Linked DNA regions of Homo sapiens: region 1 is linked to region 2. The links are contacts of gene promoters, found by promoter capture Hi-C in human tissues and cell types (Jung and others, 2019). All regions are on one chromosome and are shown on one strand. The core of a region is centred on a gene start or on the middle of the fragment in contact, and the rest is flanking DNA. Distances in the headings are between cores, read along the strand shown.

What was found. The method cuts DNA at HindIII sites, captures the fragments that hold promoters and counts their contacts. A contact is called where the count stands out against the background at its distance.
Region 1: a contact is called between a fragment that was not itself captured here and the fragment with the promoter of HOXC12 in region 2, in 3 of the 25 tissues and cell types used here (H1 embryonic stem cells, neural progenitor cells and thymus).

Annotation. Positions count from the first base shown.
Region 1 is chr12:54,077,516-54,083,931 of GRCh38, forward strand. All of the region lies in intron 1 of FLJ12825 (a long non-coding RNA gene), which reads left to right. LOC100240735 (a long non-coding RNA gene) reads right to left here and starts at 4,308. Exons shown (of 3, transcript NR_026658.1): 1 at 4,124-4,308; 2 at 2,712-2,829; 3 at 1,324-1,925. RefSeq lists a silencer at 2,030-2,324 and an enhancer at 3,622-3,841. The HindIII fragment of the contact is 4,422 bases long and covers 1,848-6,269 here.
Region 2 is chr12:53,953,086-53,960,436 of GRCh38, forward strand. HOXC12 (homeobox C12) reads left to right here and starts at 1,818. Exons shown (of 2, transcript NM_173860.3): 1 at 1,818-2,454; 2 at 3,243-5,871. The coding sequence starts at 1,845. The coding sequence ends at 3,481. LOC105369775 (a long non-coding RNA gene) reads right to left here and starts at 3,342. Exons shown (of 3, transcript XR_944977.2): 1 at 3,257-3,342; 2 at 2,806-2,882; 3 at 300-1,194. The HindIII fragment of the contact is 7,954 bases long and covers 1-2,514 here.

The sequences.
Region 1 (6,416 bases), core at 2,809-5,308, 130 kb after region 2:
AAAACAACAACAACAACAACAACAAAAAACCACAAAAACTGGCAGTCGTGGGAGGTATTTCCCCACTGGGCTGGTTGGCAGCAGGGGAAGAATTGGGGACCCCTGGCCCAGCGGTGCCTGGAAGGAGGCTGATGTAAGAGTGGTGTAGCTGTGAGTGGGAGAAGTGAGATCTAGTGGGGTAAGTCCACGTTCCCTGTTCCTAAACTCAAATTCTCCCTGAAAAGACCCAGGGCAGCACTGTTAGGGAGCTGAAGGAGTCCCTCTGTGCCCAGAGGGAATTAGGCCACTCAGGCCTCAGAGAAGGAGGGCGGGTGGTGAGGACAACCTCCCCAAGCCCCCATCAGAGCAGGCCCAATACTTGCAAATTCACTCCTCAGTCCACTAGATTCTGGTCCCATCCTACATCCCCGCCAAGGCACAGGAGGCCCAGATAAAAACAAGCTTTATTTGGCCAAATTAACTCACTTTCCTGGATTACCTCACTTATCGGAAAGTGAAAGTACACCCCACGCTCCTCGCCCTGTCCCTGCCTAAACCTCTTTATCTCTGAAGCCCACTCTTTGAGACCTAAAAATTAGGGTTCAACAGAAACGCTCTAGGACTACAGGAGGGACACGACAGTCCCTATCCTACAGCGCACTAAAAGCCAAACTGAAGGCTGCTTCCTCGGTGGAGAGTGTCTCAGGGTGAGGTGGTGGGACTGTTCGCCGCTTCCCATTTTACAAGCTCCTTGTCCACAGCCGTCTGCGCCAGCCCCTCACAAAACCGGTTCTCGCCTTCTGGTGGGTGCTGGTGTTTACCCCTTTCCTCCCACTATCTGTTCAAACCCAGCCCACCCACCCTCCATTCACCTCCCCTCCTTAAGGCTCCCTGAGCTCTATTTACCCTTTTGTAACTCCATCCCTCCATAAGTACACAACTCTCCTAGCTGGTTTCCTAGAGGGCAGATACAGTGTTTCCAGTTGGCCCTCTGCAGATATCTGTGAACAAGTCTCTCCCATCCCCTACATATAAAGATGTCTGTTCTAGACAAACGGGCCTAAGTCCCAACGTAAAAACATCACAAGATAATTACACCTTATATACATACAGATCTCTCTATAGAGTTATATTTGAAAGTGTCTATAACTCTAGAGAGAGATTGCAGCATGCACATATAGGACTATAATTATTTATGTCTATTTTTATAACTATGTAGTTATAAATAGATATGCCTATATATAGTGATAATAATATAGAAATATCTCCATAGCCATATATGGCTCTAAGTGAATGCTCTAACTACTCTATTTCACAATCAATAAGTATATATCTCCTGATACATAATTCTAACAATATACGTTTTTATCTATATAGCTGTTCAGAGATATAAATCTGTCAGGATATCACATGTACATAAAGCCGGATGGCTGTAAGAGAGTCGTATATTTTCCCATATATAAATCTGCTCCTATAACTACTGTATATGCACAAATACAATGGAAATAATTATATTTCCCTCAAACATAAATCTGTAAATACAACCACAGCACATTTAGGTACGGTTAGACATAGAGCAATATTTCCTAGACATCAGTCTGTCAATAGAGCCACCAGTGCCTCCAAACAGAGAGTTATAGAGGGAGTTATAAATAAACTCTCCAGATGGGAACCGGTCAGTAGAACTAGATGTAAACATGACTCCAAGCTGTTCTTTCTTCTTCTTCTTCTTCTTCTTTGTAAGATATTCCTGAAGCAAGCCCAGTCATATAACAGGGTGCAGAGGTGTCTGGGTACTGGTATTTTTCCCCCCAGGAGGGTCGGATGTCGCTGGACTTTGGGAAACCGAGCAGGAGTAGATAGGGGACAGTGCCCGCTCCCAACGCAGCCCAGAAGTCCCTTCCTTCTGTCTCCTGGTGGCTGAGAGCTCGGGCAAGTGGAGAGGCCTAAGGGAGAAAAATGAAAAAGCAGAGTCTGGCTTGAGTCGTTTGGCCCTTCGGCCTAAAACCCTCTCAACAGGGAAGCCCCGACCAGGCGTCGGAGCGGAGAGAGCCCACGAGGCCCAGAGGCTGGGGGAAAGGGGCTGCAGGCCAGGCTGCGGAGGCCGAGCGGAGTCCCCAGCCGGTGCCTGATCGCCCGGCGCCCCATCGCCCGGGGCCGCTGCCTCGCCGGCGGCCTGGAACACAAAACCTGGGCCCTAGCCCTGCACCCTGCGCTCAGCGCTTCCACCGGTCTTATTTTATTGCTGTTTTGTCCGATTAGGTATCGCAGCGTCCTCCACCCGGTGTTGTTCTCAAATGCGAAGGAACCCAGGGCTTTCTGAATATATGTGTGTGTGTGTGTGTGTGTGTGTGTGTGTGTGCGCGTGCTGGCTTTAAATAAGTGACTCACTGGATAGTGTATTTCTCTTTTCAGACCAAATGGGTCACCGGCTACTGAAAAAGAATCCAGACCTCTGAAAGGGTTTGTGACAAATTTTTTAGAAGTTCTCACGCTCATCTGTTATGATGATTTTCTTTTCTTTTTTCTCTTTTAAAAAAGTTGGCTAATTTGTGTTTCTATATTCCTCTTTAATTTTATTTTTATTGGGGGTACAATTGTTTTTAAAGGAGGGATTTCGTTAGACCCGAAACTGTGGGGTGGCTTCCTCTCTAGCAAACTTACTATCTCTACCCCTGTGATTCCCATCTCCCCCAAGAAAACAAACTAATTAAATGACCAGAAAACTGTACCTGGAGAGAATGAGGTAGATGTTGCCGGATCCGGGACCGCGGTCTTTGCTTGCTTCATGAAAAATCGGCTAGTCTCCAAACTCGCGAAGGAAAATTCAAGGCGCCTCAACTCCTCCTTCTAAATTTTTTAATAAAGAGCCTAGAAAGGGAACTTTCCCTGGGCCTGCCGAAGCCCCAGCCTGGCTCTCCCAACTCCCCAGCGGCCATAAGTGTTTTTCTGCTTCCGTTCGGGCCCCCAGTCTTCCCGTCTTCCCGGGCATCTCTGAGCTCTTGCCGGATCAAGGCTGTGGTCATCGCCTCATTCATCTCTGCCCCTTGGCCTGAGCCTGCACATTTGGCCTCCTTCTTAAAACAGGGGCTCCTAGAGAGTCCCAAAAGCCATTAACCATCCCCATATGTGGGATCCCTTCCCTGATCACACAAAGCAGAAGCCTGAGAAAAAAAGCAATAAAGAGTGGCCTCCTGGCCCTCCTTCCCCTCTTCTGTCCCTTGTCTGGGAAAGGGGTTCCCAACCCCAGCCCCGCCAAGAGCATATTAAGAAGCTTTCTTCCTCCCTTCCTTTCCTATCTCCCCCTCAGATGCTGTGATCCTGACTCCTTCTTCTGTCTCCACCTCAAAATATTTCCTCTTGCATTTTATTGTTATTCTGTTATGGAGGGACTGTTAACTACTGTTTTATTATTATTATTCATTATTTATTGTTATTATGATTGTTGTTAGAGATTTGTTCACCACCGTTCAGGGGACAGCAGCCTGGCCCAGGGGGAAGCCTGCCTCTCTCTCTCTGTCTCTCTCTCTCTCTCTCTCTCTCTCACACACACACACACACACACACACACACCCTAACACAGTGCACACTCACGCATATATGCTCACAAATGCCTGCTGTGTTCAGGCCCCTGCACAGCAATCCGAAGAGGCAGGCATCCTACCCCAGCACCCAAACAACACACTGCCCATGCACACCAGCATTCAGGCAGAACACCACCCCCAGACCAACGCCAAAACCCACACGCACCGAGCTTGCAAGGAAAGGAAAATACGTAAAGAATCCCTTCTCTCCCACAACCTGGAGGGGCGAGTCAGGCCTCTGTCTCTTCCCCCCAGTCGCTTTCGCTTTCTCTTTTTTTTTTCTCCTTGTTTACAGCTTCAGAGAGCTCAAGGCCCATAAATCTTGAGGGGCCTACAGAGCGCAGAGCACATTTGTATGCATCGTTAGGACTCGCTAATACCTAAGCCCATTAAGGAGCGTGTATGCGCGTGGTTTCCGGTGTGTATTAACTTATAGTTAAATTCTGGAGGAAAGGGCATTGTGAATTAACATATACCAAATCCATCATGGGCTTTTGTCATATCAGATTAGTCAGTCATGGGTTTGGGGGAGCAACTTGCCTGGGTCGGGGTGTACCCACCCTTCAAACTTTGTGGAGCAGGCCCGGGGGTCTTGGGAAACACGAAGGCATTCCTATCCAGCCCCAGTCATTCGGATCCCCCAGGCCTAGCGGCTGCACACCTGCGAGATGGCGGAGGGACTGCAGACCCGGGTGCGGGAGACCAGCGCCGGCGAAGACAGGCGGGCGAGGGAGGCCCCTCCAGCGTCCTGCTGGGGTTGAGTTGGGGCGGCTCGTCCCGTGGCCGCTGGGTCGTCTGGTTTCCGCTTTCCGAAAGAAATGAGAGGAGAGGCAAGTGGAGTCGCTGAACTTTAATTAAACCGTAGAGAAGACAGTGGGGGGAGGGGAAAAAAAACGATCGGAGAAGGAGGAGAAGGCGGCCGAGAGATCGAGGAAAGGAAGTCCTGGCGGCTCGGGGGAACTTGGAGATCTCTCCAAGGGGCTGAAAGCTGGAAGTTGTATGAAGGTGTTCCTTTTCCACACCCCAGCTACTCTGCCCCAGTCGAAGAGGCTAATTCTGGCCCTCTTATAAAAAAAAGAAAGAAAAGGTAAAGAAAAAGAAAATCTAATTATGTGGCATGTTTCAGCCAGGTGTTCCTGGTTCCAATGACTCAGACCCTATTGGAGCCCCGAGGATCTGGATAATTGGGCCTGCATAGACAGAGATGAAGGATGCCATTTCTAAAAGGAGGAAGGGGAAAGGAAAGTCCATCTCTTGGGGTCTTGTAGAAAATGCCAAAGACCAAACGAGCTAAATTATTGTGTCCGTGTAGATCTATTTGCCTATTTACATACAGCAGGCTGTGTGGGTGGGGGGTGAGGGAAGGCAAGGAATAAACGACCAGGATGGAGCGGGCTGGCAGTAGAGAAAATGAGCCCCCCGCCCTTTGCGGGAACAGCCAAGGGGCCTCCTCAGCTCGCAGCTCAGGCGGCCGTGCGGCGGGCCGGTCCGGGGCCGGGGGCCGGGGCCGGGGCCGGGGCCGGGGCCGGGGCCGGGCTGGGGGAGGGGAGGCGGGGGCGGGAGGGGAGGCGGAGGCGGGCCCTCCCCTGGCGCTGTGAACTTTAGCTGGGCCGCCGCCTGTCAGCCCCAGAAAGCGTTAAAGGTGCAGCAGCTCGCGCCAGCCTCCGCAGCCGCCTTTGTACGCGTGATTTATGACTTCAATCTTGGTTCACCGAGAGTTCACACGGCTTTCGCTGCTGTTGAAGGTTAAAAGATGGTCTTCGCTTGACAAGTGGGACTATTGAAAATTCCTTCTTCTTTTTTTTTATTTTATTTTAGAAGCGAAGAGCAGAGGCTCAGGAGAGAAAAAAATTGGGGGGGGGGGGCGGGAGACAGGGGTTGCAGGTGGGCCAAAATGGTAGGTCAGGAAGGTTTGTCTTCCTATATTTGGGATTTTTTGTTGCTAGGATTTGTGTGCGTGTTGGGGAGAGGGTAGAGAATAAGAGGGAGCTAGGCAAGAGATGTAAAGATCTCTCATATTTAGAGGCCAAAGGAGTGGGAAAAAAAAAAAACAACTCGTGCTTCCACCGTTAATTATCTGGGTAACTTGGGTCACACCCCCTAACTGATCCTCCTCTAGAGACCGGAAATGGGCCAGGTAAGGGAGAGAGTTTGGGTAAAGGGTAAGGTTTGTGTGCTTCTCACTGGGTGTACTTGATCATCCACCTTACTTGGGTAACTACTTTTTTTTTTTTTTTTTTTTTTTTTTGGAAATGGGGTCCAGCTCTGTTTCCCAGGCTGGAGTGTTGTGGCACCATCATAGTTCACTGAAGCCTCAAACTCCTGGGCTCAAGTAGTCCTCCCACCTTAGCCTCTTAAGTATGTGAGACTGCAGGCATGTGCCACACCCCCAGGCTGGGTAGCTGCTTTTCAATGTGCTTCTGCACCCACAGATTTGGACAAGGGTATTTTTAGGCAGCAGTCTTTCAACTCTCTTCATCCTGAAGGTTTAGCCTGCCATTTACATTTGATGCACATGAAGAGGCTAATGGGAAGGAAATCTATAGAACTGGAATTGGAAGTCCTTTCGAATCCCAAATCCCCTTGGTCTAAGAGCCAGTCTCTCTTCTTTCTAGCATTTTGAAAAAGGTCGTGCCACAGCAGAGATGGTGGTTAAAGATCTCCTAAAGACCAGAATCTAAGGCCCCTTTGTGATCTAAGGCTCTGAGTACTTGGAGAGACAAAACTCACTCCTTCTTTGTAGATTCAGAGAGACAGAGAGAGAGAGAGAGAGAGAGGGAATGAGGAGATACCTTGAAGCTGAGGGTCTGCTTGGCTCTTCGAGGTTTTTTTAAGATATGTTTTTAAAAATTT
Region 2 (7,351 bases), core at 568-3,067:
CCTGGGGGCGGGAGGGGCTGGACCAGGCCGGGCAGCTAGGCAAGCAGGGGCGGGGAAGGGGAACCGGCCAAGCAGGGCAAGGGACAGGCACCGAGCTGCGAGCTTCGAACTGCTCCGGGCAGGGCGGCGCCCGCGGGGACACATTTCTGTCGGAGTGAGCAGCTACGGTTTGGGATATGAAATCGCCCGGGGAGCGGTGGAATTCAAAGAATCTGCGTTTCTCTCTGCCGCGTCCTGCAGAGGAGAGAGGGGAGGGAGAGGAAAAAAAGGGAGAATCTTCTCTGCTTCGATCTGCTTTTGCAGCTTTGGCTTATTCTCAGGCTTTCTCTGATATTTAACTTTCACCTAAATGGGTTTCTTTCTCATTCTCTCCGAATCTCTGTCTCCAATTTTCTTTCAATCTTCTGGTATTTTTTCGTATTTAGACGTTTACTGAACTATTTATCCAACCCTGTATTACTTAAGCCATGCATTGGTTAGAAGCTCGAAATAATCACATGGAAATTCGAGTGTTTTTTCTATTAGACCCCAAAAGGATACATCTGGTTTGGGGGAGTTTTATTTTGTCTTTCTTTTTAATCCGCTTGGCTGTGTTCTGTGGACCTAGTTGAGATCGGATTGTGGTTTTGCAGATGTTGATTATCTCACCAATGGCCAGCATTGCTTCTCGGCCTTCTCTGGAGGGAGCTTCTGAGTTTGCACCATAAATATAATTTCACCCCCCAATAAGATAATTCTTCAAGGGTTTTTTCCCTCAATCCTAGCCCCCTCAGGAGGCAACCTACTGCGGGCCTCTGCACTGCTATCTGATGGTCCCAGGGGCAGGCTTGGCCGGTTCTGGGGTGCAGTTGTCTCCTCCGCAGTGAGAATTAGGCCCCTCTCAGCCCAGTCAAGCCCTGTTAGGGGTCCAAAGCTTCCCACTGCAAAGACTCCAGGAGGCCCCCAGAAGCTCCTCAGTTCCCCGGAAATGACAGCAGAAGAGTAGTTCGCCCCCAGATTTTCAGGAGCAGGCAGGCAGGTCCATGTGGAGCTAGGCACCTCCTTTTGCTGCATTCTCTACCTCCCTTCCGCATCCTTCCTCTAGCCGTGAGTGGAGGTGTGAGGCTGGGTGGCTCCCGGCTCCAGAGGAAAACCCGGCATTATCAATTATCCTTGAGTATTGGGGAAGAGGACTCCAAATGTCTCTCCAAATTCCTGAGGATAAAGAGCTGATAAAGAAGTGTGCAGCAGCAGCTGGGGCGGGAAGAGATAACGGCAGGGAAACCTGTCCTTACCCCCACTTCGCCTCTACTGTAAATAAACCCCGAGCCAAAGGGCTCATCCGTCTCCTTAAACAGTCAGTAAACTTTATATGACACAATATCTAATAGTAATTTATTGAGGAGATATTGTAAATTCCAACGGTTTTAGTTAATAAAGAAGCTAATTAAAGAGGGACAGGCTGTGCTTGGCCAGCTGTTGGCGATAAGATAATATATGGGGGGGGGTGCAGGTTATAGGGGTGTATATATGCGGGCATTTTTTGGTGTGTGTTTTTTCCCTTTTGCCCCGTGTTGGGCAATTGCTTTACTCTCTGCGTTAGGTTATATACATTGTTTTAGAAAATCAGTTCAGCAAATAAACCTGCCCCCGCCCTTTGTTACCCCACTCACCCCCAGGATTGGGGAAGGGGGAAGTTAGAGTGCGGGATGGGATGGTGGGGGGGGGGGATCGGTTGTCCCCACCCCTCCCCCTGGCGGCCGTGCCCACGTGAGTGGGGCGGCCAATGGGTGACTGGTGCAGATTTAACTATGTTTAATGTCAGATAGCAATAAAGTAGAAGCTGCCGGTCGGGCCCCGCGGAAATGGGCGAGCATAATCTCCTGAATCCCGGGTTTGTGGGGCCGCTGGTAAACATCCACACGGGAGACACCTTCTACTTCCCCAACTTCCGCGCGTCCGGGGCGCAGCTTCCCGGGCTGCCTTCGCTGTCCTACCCACGCCGCGACAACGTGTGCTCCCTGTCCTGGCCGTCGGCGGAGCCGTGCAATGGCTACCCGCAGCCCTACCTCGGCAGCCCAGTGTCTCTCAACCCTCCCTTCGGCCGCACGTGCGAGCTGGCGCGCGTGGAGGACGGCAAGGGTTACTACCGCGAGCCGTGCGCCGAGGGTGGCGGCGGGGGCCTGAAGCGTGAGGAGCGCGGGCGCGACCCGGGAGCCGGGCCCGGGGCAGCGCTGCTCCCGCTGGAGCCGTCGGGGCCGCCTGCGCTCGGCTTCAAGTACGACTACGCGGCGGGCGGCGGCGGTGGCGACGGCGGCGGCGGCGCAGGACCTCCGCACGACCCGCCCTCCTGCCAGTCGCTGGAATCCGACTCCAGTTCGTCCCTGCTCAACGAGGGCAACAAGGGCGCCGGCGCAGGCGACCCCGGCAGCTTGGTATCGCCGTTGAACCCCGGCGGCGGGCTCTCGGCCAGCGGTAAGGACCCCGGCCACTCAAGCGGCGGATTCAAACCCGACCTCTTACCAGGGCGGGCAGAACAGGACTGAGCTAGGGACGCCCAGGGTGACAGAATGTGTGGCGAGGAAGAGCTTCTTATAAAATGAAGTGCGGGTGGGGGGAGCCTATAAACATGTAAACATCCCCACAAAAGAAATGGAGAGTGTTCCTTTTTCGTCTGCCTGCGGCTGGAGGCGGCAGGGATTCCGGAGTTGGGGGATCCTGACGGGGACTCCCCAGGCCTGGGGGTGAGGAGGTGGGGACAGAAAGCCCGGCCCTAGTTCTCCCAGGCGCCTCTCCCTCCACCTTCCCACAGACCCCATTACTTACATTTCGAAAGAAATGCCAGTGGATGCGTTTACTCTGCCATTCGCCCATATCTGTTGTAACTGATCCGGGATCCAGTCCTGAAGGATGTGAGAGGAAGGGACCAGGAAATAGGGAAGAAGAAAATTGGGGAGAGGTTTGGGAAAAAAGGAGGGGATAGGGACTTAGAAGGGTCATGAATAGTGCAGCAGGAGGTAGGGTTGAGGAGGTAAGAGCAAAGAATGAAAGGAAAAAAAAGAGTAAAGAAAGTGGGGGAGTTGGTGGGGATGTGGGTCTGGGTAGAAAAGACGATTCAGATGACTGGCGGCAAGGAGAAGGGAGAGAAAGGGCCTGGAGTCCAGCTGTGAGGCGAAGGTGAAAGGGTCTGGGGAAGGGCCAAGGGCACTGGACTGGTCACCCTTTGATCCTTTGGCCAACCCCTGCCATTCATCTCCACCCAGGCGCGCCCTGGTACCCGATCAACAGCCGCTCTCGGAAGAAGCGCAAGCCCTATTCGAAGTTGCAACTGGCAGAGCTGGAGGGCGAGTTTCTGGTCAACGAGTTCATCACACGCCAGCGCCGGAGGGAACTCTCAGACCGCTTGAATCTTAGTGACCAGCAGGTCAAGATCTGGTTTCAGAACCGGAGAATGAAAAAGAAAAGACTTCTGTTGAGGGAGCAAGCTCTCTCCTTCTTTTAAGGTGCAGGACACGGGCGCCAGCCCCAGACTGAGCCTGTCCCTGGCAGAGAGCAAAAGAGGGCGCCGCCTAGAACACAGTCCCCACTTAGAACGCCAGGCGTCTCTGGCAGGCCCTCCCTGGATATCCTCTTGTCTGTTTTGTTCGTGGTTCCCTCCCATACACACCCAAAACACCCTGCCAGGTCCCAGAGAGAAGGGAAGAAACCTAGCCAGGGAGAGCAGAAGCCGGCAGCTGCCTGCGGTTGGCAGGGGCAGGAAGGCTGAGGTGCTGCGGGCTGGTTTATTTGAGGCAGGACTGGGGCACTGCACCTCCGCTGAGGATCTGGAGAAGCAGCGGCCCAGATGTCCCCTTCCTCTACTTCCCTTCCATGGTCTTAATTCTCTTTGCCGTCAGGAGCAAAGAGCAGGGCCAGTGGAACCAAGGCACCTCAACCTCACAGTTCCTGGGGTTAGAAGAGGCTGGGAAGAGAGAGGAGGGTGGAGGGTCAGCGGAGAGAGCTGAGGGAGTCAGGTGTCTCTGGTAGGGCTGGAGGAAGTGGGGAACCAAGGAGGAAGTGTGGTTTGTGAGAAAATGATTAGCAAGAACCAGAGTCTGCTTGGGTCTGGGTCCCCCAGGACACCCAGTGGGCAGAAGCTTGGGCATTTGGCTGGCCGGGCTGTGGACAAGGACTATCAGCCTCATGTTCCCTCTAGGACCAGAACAGTGTCCTGGTCCCCAGCCCTCTCCTGATCCCGCTGCCCGCACCGGGCGAATGTCTGTTCATAGGTGTGCTGCCATCCACTCCTCCGTTGCCTGCGGTGGCTGCAGGCCTGATGCAGCAAGCAGGGACCTGAGAGCCCAGGGGACACAGCCTCAGGTTCAGTAGCCACCCCAGAGGTCCCCAGCTGGCTCTCCAGAAAGAAAGTGCAAGAGGCTGTAGATGGGGCTACGGAGCACCACACTGATTGGCCGGGAGAATTTCTGACAGCCACAGCCGAGGCCTCTGATTCTCCCTTCCCCGCTGGCGTTCACGGTCACTGCCTCACGGGCCGGCCAGAGGGTGGACCAGCGTAATTTACGAGGCGGGAGGAGAATTCACCCTTAAAGGGGCTACCAGCCATTGAGGTCCCACTCAGCCCCAGTTTCCCAGGCCCGTGAGAATGAAGGAGGGGGGCGCTCCAGCCCCCCACCCAACTCCCTTCTCTCTTCCTCGCCCGCCCCCCAACATTGCCCTTTGTCTTCAGAAGGGCTGCCTCCGCCTCCTGGCCTGCAAACCTCCACAGCCTAGCACATGGACCAGAGCAGAGGGAGGGGCACAGCCCTAGAACCCATTGGAGGTCTGAGAATGGCTTCTCTGAGTGGGAAGGACTTTCATCCAGACTCCTTCAGACCCCAGCCCCAGCCCAGTAGACGCTGGGCTGGCTTGGAAGAGAGGAGCAGTGAGAGAACCATCAACCTTTCTGTACTTCATTTTTATCCTTCTCCCCAAGAGTCCCCCAGCCTCCCATCTGCTGTCCGGCCCTTTCCAGGAGCAAGAGGGGTGAGAAGCAGGGCACTGATGGGAGTTAACTGCAGCCTGGACAGTGTGAAACTGGCCTGCTGGCTTGGAGTGTTTCCCATATGGGGAGAGTCTCCCCTAACAAACTCTCCAAAGGCAATCCACCGAGCTTTTTACTCTCCCACCAGCACACAGCTTCTGTACAGGCAGAGGCAAAGGCAAACACATACACACAGCTGAGCCCAGCACAGCACTGGGCCCACCCCACTCTCCCTAGTGCACTCGCAAGCAGGCAGCCTCATAATCCCCACATGGCCCAGCAGAATGGAGATAAAATCACATGCCTCCATCCCCCGCTGGGTATCTGACACCTGACAATTCCCCATCCACACATACTTGCTTCACCCATGTACAAGTTCCCCCAAATTACCACCATTCCAGCTGTCTGCAGTCTCCTGTGGTCTTCCCCTGGGCATGAAGCACTCCCCACCTTGACTGGTCACCCACTGTACCCCCTTTATGCAGCCCTTCCTGTGACCTCTGGGCTCTAGGGTGCTGGATTTGAGCTCTACCACTCCAGACTAACCTGATTCCCAATCTAATAATGAAGAGGGACCAGAACACTCTAAAAGGAGTGAGGGGACAAAGATATGCAATATTCTCTTTCCATTTGCTTTAAACTTGACTTCTGTGAGGTTCTCTGTCAATCTGTGTCTTGTTCTCTGTGTCTGTCGCTGGTACCTAGTGTAGTCCCTGTGGATAGTTGCCCTTCCCCTAGCTGCCTCCCCAGCTCTCTGTAGTGTAATTCTCCTATTCCAACGTCTGTCTTTAGCACGTTTTCCCTTTATATAGTCCTTGTACAGAGTTGCTTCATCATATTAATATTGATAATAATAATAATTAAAACATGAATTATGATTATGTGATTTTTTGAAAACAAAAGTTCTACCCCAAAATAATGGGAGTCCCAGCCTCTTAGCTGTTCTCCACTTTATTTTCTCCAGCTCAGGTGAATAATAAAAATAATAAATGTGTAATAATAATGAAGGAAGAGTGGTTGCAGGGGCAACAAAAATACATAAGCAACCAAGATCTGTTGATGAGCTACCATCTCCAGTCCCAAGCAATTATAGCAGAGAGAAAATTGGGGGGTGGCAGACTTGGGGGAGGAGAGGGAGCTTTGAGAAGTCATGGGGCCATAAAAATAATGTGGACAGCCTAAAGGAGGTTGAAACCAGCTTCAGAAAAGGAGGTCTGTGCTTCAGGAACTTGACAAATAGAAGCCAGGATAGGGGCACTGGTGAGCTGAGCTGGATACTGGGGCAGTAAGAGTAACCCATAATCCCGGGGCTGAGATGGAGGGGGGTTGGTGGGCCTAGAGCTTCAACCGTGTGGTCTTAATCCTATGGCTTCACTCTGAGATGACGCTTGTGTATTGCAAGATGTTGAGAAGGGGCTAAAGACCCCTTGGAACTGGCAAAATAGGCTCCACCTTTTGAAGCCAGCGACTCCCTCTAGCCCATGCCAGAGGAAAGCCCAGGCCCAGGCCAGTGGTAGAGTCCAGATGTGCCCATGAACCCTCTGCACCTCCACCTACCCCTTCCTTTGGTAAGACATGCCCTCTCTCTTTCTTACCCTTTTGCCTCTTCCCTCCCCTCTCTCCAGTTACCTTTTCTAACTGTAAAGCTCCTATCAAAGGAGTCTCCTCCAAATTCCTCTTCCACCCTCCTGTACCAGAATCCTAGGGGCCCCCACCAAGTCCAGACTCTGAGCCACACCTCCTGCCCTGAAATCTCTCTTTCCTTCCCCTTTTTTATTCCTATAATTAGATAAACTAGCGAATTTAGATCAAATACCATTCTCTTTTTTACCCCTAATCCCCAGTTGCTTTGCGAAGCTGAGGAGTACGGACAGGAAGGAGACCCAAAGCCTTAGGTTGCTCATATAAATGCCCCACAGAGTGCAGCATCGACCGAAGACGGGCAGCTTGGGCAGCCATGAGCTGGGGGAGGGGCCTGGTGTTTGAGCCTGGGTCTGAATAGAGGAGGGTAGGAGGAGTCAGAATACCAGGAAATCAAGGCAAAAGAATATCTGACTCTTATGACGTGTCTACACAGGAAGGGTCAACAATAGGGACATCTCTGGCAAAAGAAAAAGGAGGACTTAGGAAGGCCGCAAATAACTGGCCTTTAATTTATTCCCAGAGATACTCCCAATTTGAGAGAGAAGGCACCTAGTTGGGTGGTGTCTCTGCAGGTCCAGAGACTCAACGCAAACACTGGGGATGTTGCCAGAGAAGGATGTTGCCTCCTTCCTATGACTGAAAAACAAATCGTTGGGTCTCCCGGCCAAAGAGGAGGTCACGGTTGGAACCGCGATCCCAATACTTAGG